2 separate regions of the Homo sapiens genome follow, and region 2 is linked to region 1. Evidence: promoter capture Hi-C in 16 types of primary human blood cells and fetal thymus (Javierre and others, 2016). All regions are on one chromosome and are shown on one strand. Each heading gives the region's core, a stretch centred on a gene start or on the middle of the fragment in contact. The rest is flanking DNA. Distances are from core to core; before and after follow the strand shown. Region 1 holds the start of KY (kyphoscoliosis peptidase). Region 2 overlaps LOC105374122 (a long non-coding RNA gene).

Region 1 (7,289 bases), core at 2,295-4,794:
ATTTCCAACACCTTGGAATCCTGCAAAATAACAAGCTTCTCTGAGGTGGGAGACTCAGGGCAAAAGAGTGATGTACCAGTTGCAGACTTATCTAGGTTATGGTAGAGCAGGTGGATCTTGGCTCTCTTGGAATCTGAGAGAGGCTACCCATGAATAAGATGCCCTTGAGGGAATGAATGCAACTCTCAAAATTCAAAACATTTAAAAACTGTTAAAACAGTTTTCAAGGGCAGCAGGGTTGGTTATCAGGGTCATTTAGGGAGAATTTTTGTAGTACAGATGCCCATTTTCCACTTCCACCTCTCCACTGCATACATATGAAAGCATTATTTTAGAAGTCATTTGCTATCCACATTGCCTGCCTATTTCTGTATGTGGTGAATCACCCACTTTTAGAGTCTTGATATAGAGTGGGGGGAGTGGGCTAAGACCGTCAATCCCAATGGGAATGGAAAATGACAGTTGCCAGTTCTCTTGGCCTCCCTTGCAGCTAGAGGGTAAACACGTATGGCCTAGCCATGGCCAATCTGATGTACCTGTGTTTCACTCTGCCTTGGGACCTGGTGATGCAACAGGGAAGGGAAGGAAAGCTCTCGCTCTGGCTGCGGCTGCAAGTGGTAGCCGCAAGGTCGAGTTCCTGGCACAGCATGGGGATACGTTCTGGCAGCGGGAGCTGCTGCAATAAAATTGAGATCCTGGCGCGGAAGGAGTATTCAGTGCTCCTTGGTGGCCGAGGAGGTTTCCTCACTAGACCAGCTCGTTGGTGCTGCTTACGGTACTGTTCCTGGAAGCTCAGCCTTGAGTCTTATTCTCCAGCCCTCTCAACCACTCAGGGGCCGCCACTCTCTTCTTAACACCCTTCTTTTCTGCAGAGCCCCCCATAGCCAGTGCCAGTGACTTACCACTTGGAACCCTCATGACACACCTATGGAGTAGAATACACAAACCACATAGACTTTTGGGATAAGACCTAAGACTTCAAAGCTCATTGGGTCTTGCCCCAGGCAGCTATAGGCTATATCCTCTACTGCTGCAGGAGTATATGCACTCTACTTTCTGATAGGAGTTGAGGGCTTTCAGGCACGTTTTGGAGAAGCACTGTTCTAGGGAAATGACTGGGAGGCTGCTAGGGCCTTACAGAAATGGGAGAGAACATCTGCTGGCTCTGCAGCCCAAATTCCTAGTGACCTAGCCTGTCCACACTCTCCTTGCCTTCTTGTCCCCCTGACTCTTTTCTTCCAGCAGAAGGGCCACTTCCAGCAGAAGGCCCTTCCAGCAGAAGGGCCACTCGTTACGGATTACTCCATCCTCTGCATTGCAACAATAATTGAGCTTTGATCTTTTCTGACATGGAGCCTAGGCCCTCTTTTATATAACCAAGGAAGATCCACTCTCCAGTGGAGGATCTGGAGTGTGGAGGAGAAAGGAGGAGATACCTGGAAGTGAGCAAGAGTTTGTTTTATATCTTGCACCCATGGGAGGCTTTGGAACAAGCTGGTCTTATTGGGCATTTTCCTCCCTTAGGCTGTTTTTCGAGGAAAGGGTCTGCAGGCTGGCTTTGCCTGGGGTCTCCTGAATATCATCTCTGCCCACCAGGCATCAAAAGCCATGCACTTTTCCTCTTCTCTGCTCTGGTTGTGAATAAGTGACACAGATCTCTACACTGTCATTCATAGCATCGGTGAGAAACGGCCATCAGAAAAATATTTGGAGAAAAAGTTCAGCAGAAAGGGCCCAGCCATTAGGGGTCTTTTTTTCTCTGTCATAGTCACTAGTGTGCATACATGAGTCTGGAGCCATGGCGAGTTTGTGCTAGGTGTTGGGCACCTCTCAGGGCAGTCCTGATGCCTGGTGTTTCCTGGGCTTCTCTGCATTCTTTGCCCTTTCTAGTGTCAGAGCCTTTAGAAGTGATGTGATCAGAGAGGATTGGGAGTAGGGGACTCGTGGGCTGACCTGGAACTAGGCCTCGCCACACACTGGAGAAGGCATTCTGGACTGTGGTACATGTATTCAGAGCAGTCTCATTTCTATCAAGAAGTTGATGCCCTCTGTTGACTTTCTAACTACAAATACCCTGGGCAGGCCATTTCCCCTTCTCCCAAGAGTAGGTCTGATAACTAAAGAGCCAACGAATCCAAACAACTCCTGCTTCAGTCAGGAATCAGCCCTGAGACTAGAGCGCCTGTCAACATACTCAGCCCTCTAGATTCTGTTTCTTTCCCCTGCCTGCCTTCCCAAGAGGTTCCCAGGGCTCTGGAGGCAGCTCCAGCCTATGTGGCTGGTAGTGGCAAGGCCATCCACAGCAGCATTACTTAAGCAAGGCAGGTGGAAGGTGGATGTTCAATGAGCACAGAGGCTCTGGGGACAGAAGAACCAAGGGCAGAGCAGCAGCAGGAATTCCAAGGAGCTCCAGAGCTGGAGGGGAGGAGAGAGGCAGAAGTCATTCTCCTGCATGGGCTGTCAGGCCTAACTCCTAAAGAACTGGCCCGCAGTCCGCCTAGTGCATCCTCACACCAGCCTCGGAGACAGCTTGCCATCCAGGACCCTGAGGTTCTCTGGCTTTTCAGGGGCTTATTTAACCTCCATTATCATCCCTCTGTACTCCATTCACATTGTGTTCTGTCGTCTGGAGAACAGAGAGGCCCGGATCCTGCTTTCCACAATCACTCTATAAACAGTCACTTTATTTTACCAATCTACAACTTACAAATTTACCCAGAAAGTGTGTAGGACAAGTAAAATTGATGGATAAGTTCAAGTGGAGACAGCAGGTTTCAAATCTTACCCTATCCAAACCTGCGTTCCTTTTACGCCTTTCATGCCTTCCATCTATAGGAGGCTGGGAGAAAGTCTCAAGAAAGGAGAAACTGAGGCTGTAAATTGTGCAAGGCCACACAGGGAGCTCCCCATCTAAAAGTCTGACTCAGCCCAAAGGTTTCCCAGCGTCCCCTGTGCCCTGCAGTGTGCTGTGGGGGGGAGCAGGCCTCTGCTACCCATGAGTCAGCCCTGAGGCTCTGGCCGCCTTCCTCCAGGGTATCTTCCAATCTTGCTCTACACCCGTTAGGGAGTGGCTGGGAGGAAAAAGACTCCCAGGGGTGACGGAAGCACCCACAGGCCTGCACAGGGAGTGAAACTGGGGCAATCACGGGGCTGCGCGTTGCCACGGGACTGCGCGTTGCCACGGGACGCCGGTGCCACTGCGGGGAAGCGACGGCAGCCATGGGGGAGAGGGTCGGGTTCGCTGACCTCGTTCGGGGGAGCAATGGGCGCCCCCCGGCGGGCAGGCCCTTGTGGCAAGGAGGCCAAGGTGCCGGGGGACCCGGGGACCCGGGTCGGGCGCGCGTTACCTCCTCCGCGCTGCAGCAGCGAGCTCGGGTTCGCCTGCTGGTCTGAGAGCGTACCCTGTGCGGCGCGCCGCTTCTCCGAGTGCACGATCAGCAGCATGTCGATAGATACAGCGTTGATGTCCTTCTTCAGCTCCATGATGCCGCCTCCTTTCCGACCTGGGCGCCGCGGCCGCACGCTAGGCTGCTTGCGCTGCAAATGGCCCCGTGCGCGCAGCTGCCCCACACGGGAGAGGGCGAGGGCGCGGAAGAGGGCGCTCCCCCGCCGCTGGAGCCGCAGGGCGCTGCTTTTCGCTGACTCTGCCAAACACGCCATTAGGGCCCGCCTGGGAGGGCGCTACCCTAATGAAGCGGCTCTAAGTCACCTTTGAAAGGAAATCCCCGGGCCCAAGCCTTGACCTGCACCGGGGCCATAGTCAGCAGGGGCGGCCGGTCCAGAGCCTCCCTCCCTGCGCCCCTGCCTCCCGCCCGGTGCACTTGAAGCGCTGGTCCTGGGCTCCAGGGCTTCTCTGGCTGAGCGCTGCCTCATCCCCACGGTCTCCGGAGGGTTCTCGAGAGGGCTGGAGCCGACCTCCCACGAGAAGCCCCTGGCAAATACAGAAATCGCACAGTGCTGTCAACATTGAGAGTAGATTCAGGAAAAGGAAAGACAGCAAAGGGGCTCCAGATTGAATTGCAAGATGTGCAGAGATTGTCCAAGTTTTGGCCTCGACCTCACTCCTTCCCTGGGTTGGTTTTGGAGGTTGACAGCTCTCTCTCCCTAGGAGGGAGTTGGGTGGGGTGTTGGAGTCAGGAGCTCCCCCCAGTTACGGCCCCTGTAGAACTTGGAACATGCCCATTGAGTATCAAGCTAACGATCCTCTTTGATCTGAAACGAAAGTCTTAAAGTCTCGGTTCGTTCTAGAAGCCTGGCTCCTGCCCTGTGGGGAAGGAGGGAGGGGGAGAGGAGGAGGCTGGGGCACAGGGAGCTGGACCTGAGAAGCCTTCTATTTTTAGCCCGGCCTGGCCTGCCCAGCCAACAGCAGCAGGGGTTTGGCTGTAGGTCTCAGGAGTGTTTACATAGGCTTCTGCCTGGTACCCCTGGGCACTACGGGCCCACCCTGCTGGGGGCGTTCCCCTAATTCGAGTTTCTACTGTTAATAAATGCACCCCCACATGGAGGCCTTTGCTCTGGGAGCCCTCCCCGCATTGGAGTGTATGGACCCCACCTTGTAGCATGGTCCTGAGAGTTCCCAGATCCTCCTTGGAGCAGCCTGTGTCACACAGACTGCATTCCAGTACCAGCTCCATCACTTCCTGGCTGTGTGACCTTGGACCAGCCATTTTCCCTCCACCTTCTCACCCTTATCACTGGGTTGATAAAAATTTCTCACATGGCTGTTGTGAGAATGGCATGAATGTAAGGCGCCTGGTGTATAGAAAGTGGTCTTCATATGGTAGCTGTCATTCTTACTTCATTTTAAGGGTGAGGAAAGGGAAAGATGGAGTGACAAGTGACTGATGGAGCAGAGAAGCAGGAGAGATGTCACAGCCACACTCTGAGATTCTGAAGGTCTTCCTCCAATAACAGTGGCTCAGAGTTTGGTTCCGTGTAAAGGCTGTTGTCTTATTGCATTACCAGCGCCCCCCCCCACCACCCCACCCCCTGACTCACCCACTGGGCATCTGATGGAAGGAGAGGTTGTTGGCTTCCAGTAATGTTGAACTGGAGTCCCTAGAGAGCTGAGGCCATAGACAGGCAAGTGGAGATGGCTGACTTCCAAGGCAGGTTTCCTTCTGCTAAAGTGAGTCTTGTCCTGTCTGTATGTGTGCAGGTACACACACACACACACACACGCGCGCGCGCACACCTGGGAGGCTGGCTAACACTTACTCTCTATGTGGCTGGGGAAGTAAGAACTATGCATTATGCAAAGCTCTTGGGGTGTTGGAGATTGCTGAGGCAGATCTCAGGTCCCAGAGTCCCCCCAACTACCCTGGGCCAGTCAGTGTTGTCTAACTCCTTCAAGTGTCAGGTTGTCTGAAGTGCTGAAATCAACTAGAAGCCTGTGTACAGCACCCTTGGTTGCCGGATGGGTCTGAGTGTTGGTGATGGTGGGGGGAGCTGAAGTCCCCTTTCCTTACACTTGCATTCCCATCTCCCAACCCTTGCTCTCCTGCTGGAAAGTGTCATTGCTAGGAACTCGCAAACTCTGGTGCCCCCTCCCAGAACTGCCTCTGGAGAAGGATATTCTGACCTGGGAATGTGCTGCCAGGGGTCTGGGGAAATGGTGTGGAGGCCTCCTGTCTCTCTGCTATGTCTGAAGACAGCTTCGGAGCAGGGCCTCTCATCCTTGGCGCTATTGACATTTTGAGCCAGATAATTCTCTTTGGTGGGGCTTTCCTGTACACTGTGGGATGTCTAGCAGCATCCCTGGCCTCTACGCATTAGATGCCAATCACATTCACTTCCCTATTGTGAGAACTTAGAATGTCTCCAGACATTGACCAATGTTTCCTTTGGAAAGAATTGCAGTGTGAACACCGCTTTGGAGCAAACTCCTGAAATTGGAGTCACCTCGACTGCTCTGGGAGATGCTGCTGCCCCTGGATCCTGATGGTGCCTGACACCTAGACCCTCTTCTCAGAGGTTTACCCATGGCCATCAGTCCAACAGCCTAGCTTCTGGGGCCTGCCAGGAGCATAGATGAGATGCTCTTCTTAATGCCAACTCTATTCCCATCCTTGGCCTGGGTTGACTTAGCTGCTTCCCCTCTTCCCCACTATCCATTCTTGGGCTGAGAGGGAGACACCATGGGGAAGGTGATGTGGCTGAAGGCATTTGGATGTATCAGGAAAGGGGAAGGAGAGACAAGAGAACACTGAGGTGGCTGGGATATCATTCAAGTAGAGGCTGTATCCCTTCTGCTCAAATCCTCCCTCCAGCTGCTCACACAATCAACGGGACAAATAACAGAACGCTCAGCCTGCAAATCTCCAGACCCATCTCTTCCTTTTTCCCTACCAAACCCACACATGCTTCAACAGAAACCATGTCCTCTACACCCCAAACACACCATACTAGCCCCTCCATCCTGCTACCATCTTGAATAAAAAAGATGCAAGGCTCTCTGTATTCCGACCTAAATAATTAATCTGCATCCTTGTCTTAGTAGCTGACAAACCAGGGGCTTTCTCCATTCTTGAGCAAAACTTTATTTTAATCAAAATGAGTGGGAATTCCAGGATACAGAAAGACAAAGGACAGTCAAAATAGTTGTATTGTCACCTTTGTCAAATTCAACACTTAGACACATCCAGCTGTCAGCAGCCCTGCATCCGATACTCCTCTGCTAGAAGGTGAGATTTGTCAGTTGTCTGAATGGTTCTGGGCCCTGAGTTGGTTCTGCTGTCTTGGAGATAAGGAGGGTTCACCAGGGGCAGGGCTTGCTCCTGGCAGTTGAAGCTGTCACCAGAGAGGAGTGTGTTTTGACCCCCACTGTTTTCCCTCAGAAATGGTAGTTTTGCTGGGACCATCAGTCATAGCTGTTTTTACCACTCTTGGGATTCCAAGAGGCAAGTTTCTCTCTTCTCTATAGAGATAGAGTAAGTAAGCCAATGCAATAAAGGCTTTTGGCAGGGAATTTTCTCCATTGATGACGTGGGGAAGAGGCACACAGAGAGTTCTGTGAGTTGGTGAAGAGTAACAGACCAAGTTCCAGTCTCCTAACTCCCTCAGCCTACCCTGAGATGAGTGAATCCTTACATGGGATACTGGATACCTTTCCCAGAAACCTTTCCTCAGCCAGTGTAGGCTTCCCATGGCCTCTTGACTGGCCTGGCTTAGCTTGATTCTGCTTCTGAGCCTTTGCTATTGCTATGATTTCTGCCTGGAAAACCCCTTTGGACTTCCCTGGCAAGTACAGTTTAAGCATCCTTCAAGACCCTGTGGGGAGGGTCTCATGA
Region 2 (6,739 bases), core at 802-3,301, 850 kb after region 1:
TCATTAATCCTTGTAATGGCATTATAAGGTAGACATTATGATTATCCCCATATTACAAATGAGCAACTGAGTCATAATCAAGTAACTTGCTTGAAGTCAAAATTTTTAATAACCTGGTGGAGGTGGGTTTCAAACCCAAGGCTATCTGATTCCTTGATTCAAGACACAAGGGGCTTAGAAATTGCTCTTAGATGATTTTCTTTTCTTTGTATATGCTTACTATCACACATCAAAAGTCTCCACATCCTCCATTCATGGACTAGAATCCTTATCCTTGAGGGTGATGGAGGGAGGAAAGTCTACATGTTCTGGAGAATAAAACCTGGGCACATTTATTGAGACTTTATTACATGCCAGGTCCTCTACGTTTATTATATCCACTTTACAAGTTGGGAAACTAAACTGCAGAGAGGTAATGTAACTTACCCAAAGTCACAAACCTAGTAAGATTCAACCCAGGCTGTCGGACAGGTTTAACCATTGCACATAACTGTCTCCTTCAGAGGAGTTTCTTCTCAGATTCAAAGTCTGAATCTTGCTCATTCTGCACAAAAGGTAACCTGAATGGTGTAAGGGCCCAAAGAGCTGCTGTTCCACTAAGCCAGAAACATCAAGCCAGTACTCACCTTGGGATCAGTGGTGGTGAACACATTGGGGCTGACAGATTGTTTCAGCTAAATGCAAATTCACTGAACTAAAAGCCCAACTAGGACCAAACCAAGCACAAAGATGGCCGCAAGACCGTGAATTAACTCTGCCTACTTCTAGTTCTCCTTAGTTATAGCTCAAATGTCACATCCTCAGAGATGCTATCCCTGCTGAGCTTAGCTAAAGTAATGCTCCCTTGCTCAGGTCACTAGCTACCCCACACCTTACTTATCCTTCCTCTTAGTGTTTTTAACTCTAGAAAAATATCACTTTATCATTTATGTGTTTATTGTCTGTCTCCACCCATGAGAATGTAAGCTCCATTTTTCCCATGCCTAGAATGTCTGGCACATGGTAGGCATTCAATAAATATTTGATGAATGAATGATTGAATAAATTTGTTAATTTGCATTGGCATCTGGGGAAAACACTTCAAGCTCTAGACAAATACACAGGTTTCTCTTCAACTTAAGCACCTGGGACAGTAGAAAGAGGGACAAATAGCTAAACTGATAGGATGGCATTAGAAAATGGCATCAGAAAATGGCATCAGGATTAATGCAGGTGGTCACTTTTTAAAAGCTCCTTCTTAGAAATGGTAGCCTTCTTCTATTCCCATGGGAGGTGGCACGACCCACTACAGGGCATTTAAGTATGCCAGTAGAAGCTCAATTTAGTAGTTCCCTAAATTGTAGTAGGTCGAAGCTACAAGGGAGAGAGACAGTGGTGGGAGGGCGCCCTGGGAGAGCGCACTAAGGAGGAGGTGCAGTCCAGGGATGGTCCCCGTGACGCCCAGCAGTGACAGCAGGCAGAGCCCTAGGACCACAGTAGAGTGGCTGCTTGTGGCCCTCACCTGTTGGTTTATTATTCTCATCAGCAGTAATGGAGGTTCCCCCAAGAGCCACACTCTCTAGCCTGCCTTTCAGTGTGGGCAGAGGCAGGAGAAATAGTATGCATGGCTAGTGCTTTTTTGGATGTCTGCACCCCACTGGGAATCATTTCCATTTTGCTTCAAAATTTAAATAAATAAAAACACAAATAAACAAAACAGAAGCTCTCTGATGCGGATGAGAGAGTCATCCCTTGCTCATTTTTGTATTCCTAGAAAGAACATAAACCATACACGATCTTTTCCTGTTTTTTGGTACAGTTATTGCAGGCTGGCTTTTCTCATTCTCTTTTGAATACCTCGAGCAGAACACCCCTCGTGTTGTTAATGACTTCAAAGATACCGGGTCCACTGTGCGGCAAGTGATAAAAATGTACACAGCATGTGTTGGATAAATTAATAAACTCTCCAGAGCCTCAGAGTCCTCTGGCCCAGCAGCACCGTAATGAAATGTTATTCTGAAGTGGAGGAGGTGGGAAGGAGAAGGGGAGCAGTATTTAATATATGCAAATTAACTAGTATGCAAATTGCCACTAAGTTAAAAATAACGGACTGCGAGAGAAACCTATTTTTTAAGCAGCTTGTTTATTCATTAGCCTAATTTCCATTATCAATCCTTCTGTTTTCTTTTTTATTAAGTACTCACATTTGGGGAAGTTTGCTTCCTACAATTTGTTTTGCTCCAAAATCCATAACACTGGTAAGAACAATCACCATACATTAGCTTTTCTTGGTCTCATTCTTGATTTTGCTCCTAGCTTTCAATCCCTTTTTCTCTTTCTTTCTTCCTGCCCCTTTCCTTTTGCCGTTTTCTCCTATCACTTTCACTTGCCTTGTTTCTCTGGCACCTTTTGTTTCACTGCTGAATGCGACTCCATGAAGCATCAGGCAGGGGCGAAGAGAAGCCTCCTGTCCTATGAGGTCTGACTCCAGGGACCTGTTCTTCCAGCCACTCGCCCTCATAGGTGGACTCGGATGCAAAAGGCACCAAAATCCAGCTCCCCTGCACCTCAGGGCGTGTGCTACCATTATCCCTCTCCCAGCAACAGAAAAGCCAGAACAATGCACGCCCTGATTCGGGTCTGTATATGGCCTGCTCTGTGTAGAGACAGACCTTACACAATGTTAAAGACAAATTGGCAGCCAAAATCCCCGTCTTTTGTCTCAAGAAGCATCTACCTTGCTATGAGAGAGCTCTGGTGCCCCCGAGAGGCCGAGAACGGTACCGATTGCTGGGCCGGTTATGGGGAAGGCAGGAGGCTGGAGTACAGCGTACACAAAGCCCTGGGCAGCAGCGTGTCCAGAGGGGAGATCCTGAAAGAAGGGGTGCCCTTGAGCAGCTGGGGAGGGGACTCAAGAGAACATGCTTTGCCAAAGCTGCACATAGCTTGCAAGGCTAGTTTTTGTTTTAACCGTTGTCATTTTTCACAGGGTTTGTAATCACATAGTTATTACGAAGCATCAAAATTATTTTTTAACAAGAGGTTCTTGGTACATGGTGCTTAGCTGTAGCTGTGCAAAGCTGTTTGTGCCATTCCAGCTCCTAAGGGATGTGCATCTTAGACACACAAGCACATACTCTGAGGGGCGGTATCTCCTGGTGTCCTAGAGAAGCTGTGGCTGAGACCCACGGTGGAGAATCTCAAGGCTCGCCCTGTCAGGAGCCCTGCTCCACAGCAGGCTGTGCTGCAAGTCAGCTGCAAGGGATTCAACATGAACACAAATTCCCAGAGCAAATAACTCTTAACTCCCTCTCCCTCCTGAGTTCCCTCAGTTGCTATTGCTTATAACTCTCCTGGGAGACACACTATGTCAGAATAGGAACCACATTTTTCAGGTTTCAGCTCAAGGTCAGAGCTCTGTCATTCCCCTGCTAAAGTACCTATTACTCAGGGGCAATGATGTCAAATGTAAAAGGTCACACTTTGGCAGCTGCTAGGGATCGTCCACAGACAGGCGGTGGCTGGGGAATGAATTTGCACCAGTTCCTTAAACTCCAGCATGTACTGCAATCTCCCATTGCTCTTAGGGCTAAAAATGGTGTCAAAAGGCCAAAGACCTGAAAGAGGCAGATGATACCAGAAACAGTCACTGACACTAAGCTCAAGATGGAGTCAGAAAGATAAATCATTATTATTTAAGCTCTGCACGTTTTAATACATACTCTCTTTGCAATATTTCCATAGAATGAGGAAATAAATCACCCTGCTCTTGACATTTTTAATAACTTTAAGAATGTGGTTAGGGTAATACTTAACTTTATTGACATATTGTATGGTTCATCTGTCTCATCAAACCTCAATGAAACTTCAATGAATATTAACTGAGGACCCCTAATGTATTAGGTACTGCCTGAAAAATCTCCCAAACAGTCCCTATCTGCCCTCCAGGAGTTCTAACTTATTGGCTTGACTCCTGTCTGTGGAAATCAATAGCCCACAGGGTAAGGTTTTATGGAGTTGGGGGTAGGGACTGTTCAGATTCTAGCTGGAGGATTTGGTTCACTGGGCATAGGAACACCTCTTCTTAGACTCTGGCTATTTGTCCTCAGGTTTAGATGCCTTTCTTGAGCAACACAGACATGATGAATGGGAAGAAGACAGACCCTAGTGCCATTCAACAACTATGCCTCAAAGATAGTAGATGCAGCCTACTGTCTGTGATGTGTATGCGACATTGTTCTTCCTGGTCCCCTGCTTTCACAGAACAGAAGAGAGGCCTAGAGTGGACCTTAAACTCACCAAAGTCACATAACTAACTCTTTTATGGCAGAACAAGGAGTAATAACCAAGTGTCTTGATTTTCAGGCCAACTCCCTTTTCATTAGTAAATGATAATGGTGGTGTATTTTACAAACGGGTAGGGGAACAAAAGGAAAGGGGGTCAAATAATTCAAGTGCTGATAATGATAATATTTAACCCATTTCTCTAGGATTCGCTTTTTGTCACCTTGGATTCTCAAAGACACAAGTTTTCTCTCTCACCCTCAGGAGTTTTTTGAGCTGGTGCCTTTGCAAGAATACTCTGATCTCCAATCTTGTTCTCCCAGCCATTCTTAGACATTCTCCAGGTCTTTGTTTGGATATCACTACCTCTAGTAAGCTTTGCCTTGTTCCTCACATCTGAGCTAGGTGCCCTCTATATATTTTCAAGGTCCCCACCCCCTGTCCTCCATCACAGCTCCTACCACACTTTATTGTAATTTTCTTTTACTTCTCTGCCTTCTTCAATATTCTGTGAACCCCTGGAGGAGAGGAACTATATCTGTCTTGCTCAATCAAGATTATCTCTACAGACTCTAAAGTTGTAGAGTCTCTATAACTCTAAGAACGTGGTTATAGTCAACTTTACTGATATAGTGTACAGTGCATCCATCTCATCAAACTTCAATTAAATCTCAGTGGCCATTAAACGAAGGCCTAGAATGTACAAGGCAGTGATGCCTGGCACAGAGTAGATGCTCAATAAATATTTTAGAATGCATTAAGGAAGAGTGGAACATAGAACCTCATCAGGGAGAAAATGTCACTAGCCATTCCTGTCACAGAAGTATCCAATTTCTCCCTCCCCCCTGAATACATCCTTGGCTGCTAATCTGAGCATTCCAGAGTGAGACTTACACTGTCTGAGAAAACATGTTATAGGCTATGTAAAGATAAGAGAAAGGTACACACATTTGAATATGGTCCGTCTTATTTATAGGAGTAAACCTAACACTCAGGAAACACATCTTCTGGCTAGCAAAAGCCAAGGAAACAAGCAAATATTGGACAGAGAAATAATTTTGCAGAAATATTGCAAAAATTGTTTAATATCTTTGCTACATAAAGAATTCATATAAATTGATTAAAAAATAAAAGAATAAAGTCCTCAATAGATAAGTAGGCAAGGGACATAAACAGAAAATTTCTATAAGGAAAGCCTTAACTAGCAAATAAAAATATATAAAAATATCCAACCTTGCCTGTTAAAACAATTGTGTGGTATAGGACCTGGATCCAGAGATAAGAAAGGGTCGGTTGCCCCTCTTACCCCGGCCTTACTCACTCACAGCAGGACTCGTTGTTGCTGCTGTATTTCAATGGGCAAGGTGAGGCATTGTTTGAGTATAAGCCCCCAGGTCCTTAATAGGCTAGGAGAGATGCAAAGAGCAACACAGTGAACAGCACAAGAATGAGAATTCTGAACTGGTAGCCAATAGAGTGGGAGGAAGCTGGACAACAAGAAGAGGGATGCAACGGCACAGAGGTGGCTTTGCTTGTTCCAGGATGCAGTGCCTAATGTGGCTAGCCCACTGCCTGGCACATGACAAACACTAGAAAACTGTGGGACTAAAAATACAATATTGCACATGGAGGAGAAGGAGTCAAAAATATAAATGAATGTTTGAAACAAGGTAATATGTTTAAATATGACACAATCCCAGGGGCTTTATGATTTGCTGTGAAAGTGTGTTTTTGGCTTCTTGTTCAAACAGCTGCCATGTAGGGTTCCCTCTGGTGCATCCACCAGAAGGGAAATGAGATTCATTAATGTATAATATCAGCATGGCTCCTAGGTGCCTCACAAATTCAGACATGGGTCTGAGAAACAAAATGATAACAAAAATATGATTTACCCTATTAAATTTTCAGAAGTTAAAAATAAAGATAATATTTTATTGGTGCAGTATAAATATAAACACAACAATTTTTTGAAACTTTTTGAAAGCAGTCTGGCAATATCTATCAAGCACCATGTATCAATTAGTTATTGTGGCAAGAACGTTGTGTAACAAATACATCAAGAGAGCCTGTAAAATCTGCAAGGAGTTACACATGTGTTTCTCTACCTGGGCAATGCGGAAAACAGGGTAACGCCAACCCACCAATGGGAGGCAGCTCAGTCACTGGGCTCCTTTTCTGAGCTCAAAGGGCAATGCATAGAGTTCAACTGAATTCTCATAATTGCACATTAAAAATTCATTGAAAGGAACTTCATAGGGTCATAGAAGTGTTCTATATCTTGAATGCGGTTAAGCAGGTATGTTCACCTTTCAAAACTCATTAAAATAATCACCTAAAATATGTTAATTTTATTGTATATAGCTTATTCCCCAATAAAGTTTATTTAAAAAATAAAACCCAGTTGAGAATCACTTTAACTTTAAAATTTGAATTATAGAAAACTGGTTTTATCTGAAAGCAGGCTGGAAAACTTAAG

Evidence for each region. The method cuts DNA at HindIII sites, captures the fragments that hold promoters and counts their contacts. A CHiCAGO score of 5 or more calls a contact.
Region 2: a contact is called between a fragment that was not itself captured here and the fragment with the promoter of KY in region 1, in 1 of 17 cell types (endothelial precursors). The highest score is 5.3, in endothelial precursors.

Annotation. Positions count from the first base shown.
Region 1 is chr3:134,647,478-134,654,766 of GRCh38, forward strand. KY (kyphoscoliosis peptidase) reads right to left here and starts at 3,545. Exons shown (of 11, transcript NM_178554.6): 1 at 3,348-3,545; 2 at 1-20. The coding sequence starts at 3,483. It also overlaps a transcript of CEP63 not described here. The HindIII fragment of the contact is 8,919 bases long and covers 34-7,289 here.
Region 2 is chr3:135,501,298-135,508,036 of GRCh38, forward strand. All of the region lies in intron 1 of LOC105374122 (a long non-coding RNA gene), which reads right to left. Among named protein-coding and RNA genes, the nearest start is that of PPP2R3A, 460 kb to the right of the region's middle. RefSeq lists a silencer at 2,330-2,624. The HindIII fragment of the contact is 5,171 bases long and covers 1-4,637 here.